Linked DNA regions of Homo sapiens: all the other regions are linked to region 1. Evidence: promoter capture Hi-C in human tissues and cell types (Jung and others, 2019). All regions are on one chromosome and are shown on one strand. Each heading gives the region's core, a stretch centred on a gene start or on the middle of the fragment in contact. The rest is flanking DNA. Distances are from core to core; before and after follow the strand shown. Region 1 holds the start of ANO7 (anoctamin 7). Region 2 overlaps SNED1 (sushi, nidogen and EGF like domains 1). Region 3 overlaps HDLBP (high density lipoprotein binding protein). Region 4 overlaps PASK (PAS domain containing serine/threonine kinase).

Evidence for each region. The method cuts DNA at HindIII sites, captures the fragments that hold promoters and counts their contacts. A contact is called where the count stands out against the background at its distance.
Region 2: a contact is called between a fragment that was not itself captured here and the fragment with the promoter of ANO7 in region 1, in 4 of the 25 tissues and cell types used here (heart left ventricle, heart right ventricle, hippocampus and 1 more).
Region 3: a contact is called between a fragment that was not itself captured here and the fragment with the promoter of ANO7 in region 1, in 2 of the 25 tissues and cell types used here (dorsolateral prefrontal cortex and pancreas).
Region 4: a contact is called between a fragment that was not itself captured here and the fragment with the promoter of ANO7 in region 1, in 3 of the 25 tissues and cell types used here (adrenal gland, pancreas and psoas muscle).

Annotation. Positions count from the first base shown.
Region 1 is chr2:241,187,358-241,190,119 of GRCh38, reverse strand. It overlaps ANO7 (anoctamin 7), which reads right to left and starts at 1,443. Exons shown (of 25, transcript NM_001370694.2): 1 at 1,354-1,443; 2 at 1-63. The coding sequence starts at 56. It overlaps LOC105373971 (a long non-coding RNA gene), which reads left to right and starts at 1,698. Exons shown (of 3, transcript XR_924064.3): 1 at 1,698-1,844. RefSeq lists enhancers at 805-1,488, 1,489-2,173. The HindIII fragment of the contact is 24,444 bases long and covers 1-2,762 here.
Region 2 is chr2:241,082,789-241,085,550 of GRCh38, reverse strand. All of the region lies in intron 29 of SNED1 (sushi, nidogen and EGF like domains 1), which reads right to left. It also overlaps a transcript of MTERF4 not described here. Among named protein-coding and RNA genes, the nearest start is that of MTERF4, 18 kb to the left of the region's middle. The HindIII fragment of the contact is 4,214 bases long and covers 1-2,762 here.
Region 3 is chr2:241,279,120-241,281,881 of GRCh38, reverse strand. All of the region lies in intron 1 of HDLBP (high density lipoprotein binding protein), which reads left to right. Among named protein-coding and RNA genes, the nearest start is that of HDLBP-AS1, 8.3 kb to the right of the region's middle. RefSeq lists an enhancer at 148-648. The HindIII fragment of the contact is 3,126 bases long and covers 1-2,762 here.
Region 4 is chr2:241,107,829-241,110,590 of GRCh38, reverse strand. It overlaps PASK (PAS domain containing serine/threonine kinase), which reads left to right. Exons shown (of 18, transcript NM_015148.4): 16 at 2,291-2,424. Among named protein-coding and RNA genes, the nearest start is that of MTERF4, 6.9 kb to the right of the region's middle. The HindIII fragment of the contact is 4,883 bases long and covers 1-2,762 here.

The DNA of each region.
Region 1 (2,762 bases), core at 194-2,693:
GGGCTCACATCGATCAGGACGGTGCTGTCCTCTTCCTGGGCCCGTCGCCGCAGCATCCTGCTCCTGCACCCAGCAAGGCCGGGTGGGGATGGGGGTCAGAGAGGGGATGGGTGAGACCCGTTCCTGGGGCCACCACACTGCCTGCAGTGAGCTCACTTTACAGACTCGACTCGGAGTAGAATGGGGCTGGGCTGGCTCGGCAGACTCTCCTGGCCATGAGCACATGGAGAACCCCCTAGCCAGCCACGAGCTCCAGGAAGAAACCAGTGCCGGGGCGGGAGCGTCTGGCAGGCCTGGCACAGCAGGCGTCTGTCTGTCCATCCAGTGAGTGCCCGTGTCCCCCAGCCCTGAATGCCGTCCACTCTGCCTGGGTACTCAGTGGAGCCTGAGAAGGCCCAGAAAGGTGGGCCTGGAGTACAGACACCTCTCCCTCTCTTATCCGTAGGGTGGAGCCATGTGAGCCAGGGACAGGAAACCCCTCAAGTCGCCTGCCTTCGCTCATGGCCTGAGGACCCAGTGCCAGGACCCATAGGCCCTGAGCTCCCCAGCAAGGCGGGCCTGATGGAGCCCGGCCTCACAACTCTTGGGGGTCCCAGCTTCCTCCCGCACCTTCGCCCCGGGGGTCTCTCTCTGTGGGAGGACAGGTGCCGTGGCTCCTAGTCTTGGGCTGGCAAAACGGGGCCAGGAGCACGACATCTGTGGCCCTGGAAGGAGAGGGTTCGAGCTGGGGCTGGCATTTGGAGCTGCGACGATGACCGGAGGGTGTGACCATGGAGGCGCCGCAGGAGGTCGGAGGGGCAGCCTTCTAGTTCTACCCTTCACTTCACATTAGCGGAGGCCCAGAGGGACAGAGACTGAGCCTGGGCCGCCTGCACCTGCCTAACCCTGAAGCCCGAGCCAGGTCTCAGTGTTAGGACTCGGCCCCGGCCCCAGGCTGGGAGCCTCACTACGGACTGTGGGGTGTTCCTGGAGGAAAGTCCCCGAGGAGTTTCGGCCACCCAGCAGCCCCTCATGCCCCCATCCTTCTGTGGTGGGCAGGCGGGCCCCTCCTCAGAGCTCTCTGCAGAAAGAATGGGGATGCCCCCCACCCCAACGAAGGGACCTGCTCCATGGGGGAGCCCCTGGGCAGGCAGGAAGCCAACCCCAGCTGGGTGTACCCCGTCCAGAGCCGCACTGAGTGTGTGTCCCTCCTCGTGCCCCAAGGGGCTTTGGGGACCAGGGCGGGCCCTGGCACTGCCTCCCCACAGGCCAGGGTGTGTGAAAGTCCCGGTGGGCTGGGGTGCCGCCCTGCCTCCCTAGAGTCCAACGCTCCACCTTCTCCCTGTGGCCCACACGTCTAGGCTGGGTCCCCACCTGGCACAGTGGCTTCCGGAAGAGGTCTCGGAGGTCATGGCCCACCTCTCAGCGTGAGCCTGGTCTCGGCAGTAGAGTCCCGTCCTCACTGCGGGACAGAGGGTGGGGAGGGGTGGCCCTTGGAGCCCCGCCCAGGCAGTGGCAGCCATTCGCATGCCCTCACCTTGCCTGCAAGTGGGCCAGGAAGCAGGCAGGGGAGGTGCCCAGCACAGCTGGCCAGGGCAAGGCTTCCCGGCTCCTGGAGCAGGATCTATCTTTGTTTAAATAGGGGGTGTGGGGCTCAGAGCTGCAGACAGAGGCAGCCCACTTGGCTGGGCTTTCACACACCCGCATGCAAATGCTGCCGTCCTCCTGGGAACCTTATTTGCTTAGAGATTTCAGGGCTGGCATCAGCTGTCATAGTTGCTGCCTTGGAGGGTCTCGAGGAGGTGGGATTCCACAGGAACAGCCACAAGTGCCACCTCTGCTGGAAGCCTTGCCAGGCAGACCTCGTAAGCTCTGTTTATGTGGGGGGAAACTGAGGCTCCTTGAGGTTACGTAGCATGTGCTGAGTGGTGGGCCAGGGTTTCACCCGGGGGCTGGGGAGATTGGGAGACCCAGATCACACTGCTGGCTCTGCTAATGCCTGAGGGGTGACCTCAGGCACATCCCATGCTCAGGGCCCCATCTGCAAAAGGACAGGAGGGGTCCTAGCCTTCCTCCCATCCTTTCCGCCCTCCTCCTCGTCCTCATTCTCCTCCTAGCCCTCCTCTTTCTCCTCCTAGCCCTCCTCCCCCTCCTCCTTTCTCCCCCTCCTCCTATCCTTTCTCCCCACCTTCCCTCTCCTCCTTCTCCTCCTATTGTTTCTCCCCCCTACTCCTCCCTCTCCTTCTCCTCCTATCCGTTCTCCCCTCTCCCTCTCCTCCTATCATTTCTCCCCCCAACTCCTCCTCCTCCTCCTCTTTCTCCCCACTCCCCCTCCTCCTATCGTTTCTCCCCCTCCCCCCCACTTCTCCCTCTCCTCTTCCTTCTCCTCCTTTCTCCCCACTCCCCTCCTCCTGTTTCTCCCCCTCCCCCCACTTCTCCCTCTCCTCCTCCTTCTCCTCCTATCCTTTCTCCCCGCCCCTCCTCTTCCCCTCTCCCTCCCCCTCCCCCTTTCCTCCTTGGTGCCTGGCAGTGTCTGAGAACCTACCACCCGTGCTCCTCGCCCTCCATGCACAACTGCACTGGGGAGCCCCAAGCTCAGCTTGCTGTTCCAGGTGCCCCCTTCTGCCTGTTGAAATCCCTCCAGGCGGACCCTCATCCTGGCTGCAGCTTTCCCTTATACCTATGCCCCTCTGTGCTTGGCACCTCCCAAGGGGCCCTGTTCTTGGACCTGTGTTGTGCCTCGGAACAGCGGGAAGGCCCTGCAGGCCGGGTTCCCTGTCAGC
Region 2 (2,762 bases), core at 158-2,657, 100 kb after region 1:
ACAGAAATAGCAGATGAGGACCTTAAAATATCTATTATAAATTTGTTCCACATGTTCAGTGAGCTAAAGGAAAATATAAAGATAATGAAGATAGAAATTGGAGCATCTAAGAAACAACTAAATGAAACTTCTGGAGATGATAAAACACAGTATTAATAAAACTTTTGTTGAACAGGATTAATGGTAGATGCTGCAGAAGAAAAGATCAATGACCTTGAGTGCATAGCAATAGAATCTGTCCAAAATGAAAAGACTGAAAAAGTTGAGAAGAGCTGCAGTGACCTGTGGGACAATATCAGTCTAATACACGCATAACTGGAGTCCCAGAAGTAGAAGAAATGGAGGGACAGGAAAAATATATGAAGAAATAATGGCAAAAATTTTACGAAGTTTGACAAAATTAAAACCCAGAAATACAAGAAGCTTAAACTCCAGAGAATCAAAACGTAGCCATACCGAGAAGCACATCATAATTAAATTGTCCAAAAACAGTCATAAAGGGAAAACATAAAAGGGGCAGGAAGACACATTCCATACAGTGTAACACAGGTAAGAATGACTGCAGTCTTCTTGTCTGGAACTATGCAAGCCAGAAGACAAAGCCATGACAACTTTTAAGTCATGAAAGAAAAAAATATAACTGTCAATCAAGAAGTCTATATTCAGCAAATATATTCTTCAAAAATGAAGGTGAAAAAAAAATAGTTTCAGACAAAAGCAGAGAGAATTCATCTCCTGCAGACCTGTGCTATAGGAGATGTTAGAGTTAAGTTCTTATGGCAAAGAGAAATGATACCAGATGGAATCCTAGATCTACAAAAAGGAATGAAGAGTGCTGGAGTCGGCAGGCAGATGTACAATAAATACAAAATACTTTACTTTCAATATCTAAAACAAGATAATTTTTGAGTGCAAAAATAACGTATAGTGCAGTTCACAGCATATGTGGAAGGAAAAAGTCTGATAATAATTCAAAGGATGGGAGGGAAGTGGAAGCTTGATGTCAGCCGCTGCCATGGATACTGAAGTTGTCTACTAGTGATTAAAGGTATGCGGCGTGAAGTTGAAGATGTGTATGGTAAATCCTAGACACTGCTGGCCGGGCACAGTCACTCACGCCTGTAATCCCAGCACTTTGGGAGGGCAAGGTGGGTGGATCACCTGAGGTCATGAGTTTGAGACCAGCCTGGCCAACATGGTGAAACCCTGTCTCTACGTAAACTTTGTCTCTACTAAAAATACAAAAATTAGCAGGGTGTGGTGGCAGGCGCCTGTAATCCCAGCTACTCGGGGGGCTGAGGCAGGAGAATTGCTTGAACCCAGGAGGCAGAGGTTGCGATGAGCCAAGATCGCACCATCGCACTCCAGCCTGGGGGACAAGAGGGAGACTTTGTCTCAAAAAAAAAAAAAAAAAAATCCTAGACGCTGCCATCATATTGAACTCGTACAATAGTAATTAAGGGTACATTGTGTTAAGGTGAAGATGTGTATGGCAAATCCCAGAGCAACCTCTAAACAATAAACCTAAGAAGTATAACCAGTAAGCCCATAGTGGAGACAAAATGGAATCCTAAAAAGTAATCCAAAATTAGGCAGGAAAAAAGAAAAAAGGAACAAAAAGCAGGTGGGAAAAATAGAAAACAAATAGTAATATGGCAGTTTAAATCCAACCACATCAGCCATTATGTGGAAGGTAGTAAATGGTCTAAATACTCCAATAAAAACCAGACTGTCAGACTAGATATCCAGCAAGACCCACCTCTATGTTAAATACTAGAAAGTCACTTGAAATATGCAGATAGGTTAAAAGTGAAAGGATAGAATGCTTTCAGGAAGTGAAGGGTCTTCTTGTTGGATACTTGGTGGTCACCAGCAGGCACTGGTGTAACTAAGCACAGCGGGAAGATGGCAGATACTGTGGATTCGGACTCTCACTGCATAGAATCCGAATTCAGTGGGCTGTCAACACGGCTTCCCAAATCCCAACACAGATTAGTATCTCATATGTGTTCCTGCTACATATTACACCTGGCTTCATGTCCAAGCTCTAATGAAGCTTCTACCCTTGCCCGTCTACATCCCATTCTCCACAGAGCATCCAAAGTAGTGTAATCGAACATGTCACTCTTCTGCTCAGAACCCTTCAGTAGCTCCTCCCCATTTCATGCCGGACAAACACCAGAGTCCTTCTGTGGGTCTCCATGGCCCCGAGGGTTCCCTGTCCCTCACCTCTCACCACTCTCCACTTCTCCCCCAACATGCCAGGGACACTCCTGACTTGGGGCCCTGGTAACTGTCCTCTGGCTCTGGAATGTCCATCCCTCCTCCATGTCTGTTCAGCATCGCCCTCCCCAGGAGGCTGCCCTCTTGCTGCACCAGCCCTGCCCATCCCCAGCAGGCTCTCCTGGTCTCGTCCTGTCATCTCGTCCTTTTTCCCTTTGCACTCACCACCTGCCACACCACACACCACACTCTCACTGCTGTCTGTTGTCTGTCCCCTCATCTGCAATGAACGGGTCCTGAAGGCAGGGCTTTGGTCTGCTCTGTTCTGATGTGTGCTGAGTATCTAGAACAGTGCCCGGCACACAGCAGGTACTCAGTAAGTCATCTGTTGACTAAATGGACAGTGCCCGGCACACAGCAGGTGCTCAGTAAGTCATCTGTTGACTAAATGGACTGTGTGACCGACAGAGTCATAGAGTGTTAGCAAGAAAGGACCTAAGAGATGGGCTGGGCATCTCTCCCTCCACAGCCCATTTTGG
Region 3 (2,762 bases), core at 161-2,660, 92 kb before region 1:
AGCCACATATATTTAAAATTTTCCAACATCTGCCTTAAAAATATAAAAATAAACAAGTGAAGTTAATTTTAATAATATTGTTTCACCCAATGTAAGATACTACCATTTTACATGTAATCCATCCTAAAACTAATAATAAAATGTTTTAGATAGTATTTCTTGTACTAAATCTTCAAAATCTGATGTATATTTTAGACTTACAGCACATATCATTTTAAACTAGCCACGTGTGAAGGCTGTAGTGACATGTGGCCAGTAGATGTTGGCCAGCACAGCTCAAAAGAGTAGTCTATTTCTATGAAAATCCATCAATTTATTCTTTTGGACCTAACATTTGTCCTATCCTCTTTTTTATTTTTTTGAGACAGGGTCTCACTTGGTCAGCCAGGCTGGAGTGCAGTGTCACGATCTCAACTCATTGCAACCCCCACCTCCTAGGCCCAAGCAATTCTCCCACCTCAGCCTCCCGAGTAGCTGGGATTACAGGCACGTGCCACCATGCCTGGCTTATTTATTTATTTATTTTTAAGACGGAGTTTCACTCCTGTTGCACAGGCTGGAGTGCAATGGCGCGATCTCGGCTCACTGCAACCTCTGCCTCCCGGGTTCAAGCGATTCTCCCACCTCAGCCTCCCGAGTAGCTGGGATTACAGGCATGCACCCCCAAGCCCGAGTAATTTTGTGTTTTAGTAGAGATGGGGTTTCTCCCTGTTGGTCAGGCTGATCTCGATCTCTCGACCTCAAGTGATCCGCCCACCTCGGCCTCCCAAAGTGCTGGGATTACAGGCGTGAGCCACCGCGCCCAGCCCCCCATCTTATTAAGAAAATAAATTGTATTTATCTGACACATGTTCTTTAATTAGGCTCTAAGTAAATATTATTCTTTACTCAGCTGTAGAAATATGTGCTGATTGTTTCTGTATTTGTAAAATTAATGTAGTGGCATACTCCACTAAATGTATTAATTTAGTGGAAAGTAGTGAGTTTAGTGGTTTAGTGGAATTAAATGTTAGCATTCCCAAACAGTGAGATACCTATTAAAGGGCAGGTTCTTTTAGATACCATTTTCCTTGATCTTTTTAACAACTTGCAGAAAAGGCCCCAAAACTTAGAAATGTGAATTATTAAAGTTGAGAGCTTAAACAACTAGCCAAGGTGACCCAAATTATATCTGAGCAAGATTCTGAAAGCAGGTATCCTGGCAACAAGTTTGGTGTTCTTTATACAATTTGTTCTCATTATAGGTGCCTATAATGACTCGGATAAAACACAAGTTACGTATTTTCACCTTACCTAGAAATACGTGAATCAAAGAAATAAGCCAGAGAACAGTGTCACTGGAGAATATACTAAGTTACCTTTTCTGTTACTTCCTGAAAAGTAGTGAAACTGACAGAATTAGTTAGTGGAGAAAGAACAAGGCAAATTTACAGGAAACCCTGGACTGCAAGGTCTTTGTTTCTGTCTCATCTGAACTTTCGTGAGACTTTATTTTAGGGCTGGGAGTTTAATGTAATAATATATACTGTAATATATATTAGCAGTAAATACATGTGAGCCAAAGAAAAGTTGTTCCTTATTAGAATATGCTACAAGTCAAATTAAACTGAGTATAAATAAGCTTAATTATAAAATTAGTTTGTGCTAATAAAAATGTAATATGAGCCACATATAATTTTAAATTTTCAGCTTTCAAATGGGATGGAAACATTTCTTTGACCTGACTTTGACCACCACACTCAGTATGGGAGTGCAAATTGTGCTAAACTTAGCTCCCATCCCATGGTGCCAATAACTTCCTATAAGACTGCACTGCTGCCAAGGAAGTGGTGGGCGCCTGTCCTCCACATCTCTGCTCCCACAGCCTTGGAGATGACCCCTGGTCCGCTGCTCCTCCTAACCCCTTCAGCATGGCTCCACTGCAGCGGGTTCCTGTCAGGTGATAAGTTAAAGCAAAGAGAGGAGTAGGCTGCATAAATTGTATACCTCTGTTTATCCATGTTATCCACTGACAATTAGGTTCTTAAAAATTTGTTGACTATTACTAGCAGTGCAGTGAGATGAGCATTCTTGTACATATTTCCTTTTGCCCAGGAAAGCTTTTTCCTGAAGTACGTCTCCAGAAGTGGGATCGTTCGCTCGTGGAGTATTTGCTTCTTAAGCCTTAATAGGCCTTGCAAATGGTGTCAAATAAGGACCTAGTTTTTCCCTCCTACTGTAGATAACCAGTTTTCCCAGAGCCATTGATTGCATCATCCATCTCCCTGCTGATCCACACGACCACATCTGAGGCAGGCAATGTCAGTGTCTGTGGTGTCTGCGTTGGGCCCACTCTGCTGCTCCCTTGTTCTCTGTGTCTGTCCCCGGCACTAGCACCACAGCCTGAATTACTGACACTGGAGAGAGCAAGCCCTCCTCCACGTTGTTTTCTTCAGAGTTATATTAGCTGTTCTTGGTCCTTGATCTTTTGTATAAATTTTGTTGTGTAAATATGATTGTATTTGTAACTATTCTAAAAATGGTGTATATAAATAATTTTTTTTACAATTCAGTGTTTGCAATGCAACATTATAAAAATTACATATAGAAAACTTGTATAAATAAAAATTGTATAAAATCTGGTTGTAAAATTCCATACACACACATACCTTTTGGGATTTAAGTTACATTTGCATTGAATTTCTAGTCTAATTAGGGGAGAATTACTATCCATGATTAAGTCTTTCTTTAGATGACCATGGCCTGTCTCCATTTATTAAGGT
Region 4 (2,762 bases), core at 93-2,592, 79 kb after region 1:
GCTGTGGCTCCCACCCTCTCCCTGAGCGCCTGCCCTGCCAGGGCTCTGCCCTGCCTCCTGGCCTCTCCTTTCTGGCTGTGAGCGGTGTACTGCTCCTGGGCCTGCGGGGCTGCAGGCCTCCTCTCAGGAGCTCCTTCCTCCCTCCTGCGTCCTCTCCCCATCTCCCTGGATGAAAGGGTTTCTGAGTTCTTATTCTCAATCCCATCCTCAGGGCCCTGGCTTCTGTCTTGTCATCTTCATCTCCGTCTACTCCAGGGTCGGCAGACTGTGGCCTTAGGTCCCTCTTCCCCTTCCTCAGGCCCTGGCAGCTGCCATTCTGCTATTTTCTCTATGAATCTGACTACTCTAGGGACCTCCTATACGTGGAATCGTACAGCATTTGCCTTTTGGTGACTGGCTTATTTCACTTTGCATAAAGTCCTCAAGGTCCATCCATGTTGTGGCCTGTGCCAGCATCTTCCTTTTCAAGGCTGAATTTGATTGCGTTTTCTGGATATGCTGTACTTATTCATCTGTCAGTGGACATTTGTGTTGCTTCTACCTTTTGCTTCCATCTTTATGTTGTTCGTGATGCTGCTACAAACGTGTGTGCAAACATCCCCTGCCTCTTGTTTCTATAAATAAAGTTTTATTGGAATGGAGCTGTGCTCATTTGCTTATGTGTCGTCTGTAGCTGCCTTTGTCCTACATGACAGAGTTGAGTTGCAGTGGGGACCATGTGGCCCAAAACCTGAAATATTTACTATTTGACCCTTCACAGGAAAAGTTTGCCAACCTCTGTTCTGTTCTATTGGATATTTCTCTTCAGCTTCTAAACATCTTGAAATCTCTCTAAAAAACAGAAACAACACAAAAACAAAAACTGCTGAAACTGATTTTCTTGCTCTAGCCCCTACAGCTCTCATCCGTCCGCTCAGCTTCCCTGCGGTCTGTGCTAGCCACCCCACCACCCTGCTGACTCAGCCTGGGGGCCCGACTTTCACCCACGCTGCTGCTCTGGCCTCTGTGATCTGCCCTCTTGAGCCCTCCCCTCCCCTCCCCTCCCCTCCCTCCCAGCCCCTCTTCTCCGAGTCCAGCCCGGGGCTCTGTCCGTGCCACTCTTCTCACTGCTGTGGTTTCTCTTGGCTCCCTTGTCTAATTCTGGTTCTGAGAACAGGCTGCTGCTTCCCAGACCTCTTCTGGGGACAGACCCCCAGCTGCGGACCTGGAGACGCATGGCCTTGGCCAGTGCAGGGGCAGGGCTGTGGGTGCTGGTGACCTGGCTCTGGTGCGTGCTTGGCAGCAACTTCACCTCACCAAGCCTTGCTCTTCTGTGCAAAATGAAAGTCATATTTATCTTGCTAGGTTGTTGTGAGGATTTGGGTTAAGCCATGTAAAATGCTGGTACAGCATTGGCATCTCTAGGTACCCAATAGATGGTAGCATGGATGAGGATGTTTACGGTGACAGGAAATAAATGGTAGCATGGATGAGGATGTTTACGGTGACAGGAAATAAATGGTAGCGTGGATGAGGATGTTTACGGCGACAGGAAATAAATGGTAGCGTGGATGAGGATGTTTACGGTGACAGGAAATAAATGGTAGCGTGGATGAGGATGTTTACGGTGACAGGAAATAAATGGTAGCGTGGATGAGGATGTTTACGGCGACAGGAAGTAACAATAGTCCTTTGGGTGTCTTCTCCCTGAAGCTTGCTCCTCCATTTGGCCCACTGTGTGAACACCCACCTTCACCACGTCCTTCTTGTTTGCTTTCATCCTTCGGTGTTTTTCCCTGTTCAGTCTCGTCCTGCAGCACCCTTCACATCGTCGCCACAGCCATCTTCCTAAAGGGCATGTGTGTCCATGGTCACACCAAGCCCGTTCACACCAAGATCGTGAACATGCCTGATCACGTCTGAAGGGCACGTGACCCTGTTCTGAAGTGGCCTGCAGCTCCCGTGGCCCTCAGCAAAGCCAATGGACGTGTACTCTGCTTCCTCCAGGAAGCCCTCCCCCCGCTCCCCCCTCTGGTAGACACGTCTTGTGGTTGGTGTCCACAAGGAAGTTCCTGATTAGCCTCGGAGCTGCCCGATGGCCTCTCCACTCCTGGCACATGGCCTGCTGGCTGGCCTGGGGCAGAAGTGCGTGGAAATGGAGGGCGTGTTTGAGGGGTGGAGTGACCCTCCTCTTGGGAAACCACTGCCTGGCCTGTGTGCTGGTCGGGAAGGGCCATGGTGCTTCCCATGGGCGGGCTTGGCAAGCCTGCGCTGAGTGCCGTGGCGTCCTGATGCCTCCTCCTCCTCACAGCTACAGAGGGCCGGAGCTGGAGATGTGGTCTCTGGGAGTCACTCTGTACACGCTGGTCTTTGAGGAGAACCCCTTCTGTGAGCTGGAGGAGACCGTGGAGGCTGCCATACACCCGCCATACCTGGTGTCCAAAGGTGAGCGTGAGCTGCAAGTGGTAGACAGTCGACACTGTCCTTAGAGACCAGCCACTTTTTTTTCCCATTTCCTCATTCCTCAGTGTATCTCTGTCCATATCAACAGTCTCATTTGTTTCTTTTCTATTCATCAAATAATTTGCATATGACTTTAAAACATCTTGATAATTTAGTTTTTGTTAATGTTCCTCTTTGGATCTTAGAGGCCCTCTTGTGAGAAACACACTTGCAGTCAGGACAGGGAGGCTCCAAGTGGCCCTGTTGACTTGGTGCCTACATGGTTAAAGGAACTGGGGCCCGAATCCAGATGCAAGGCTGGGGGCTTCTCTCAGCTTGTG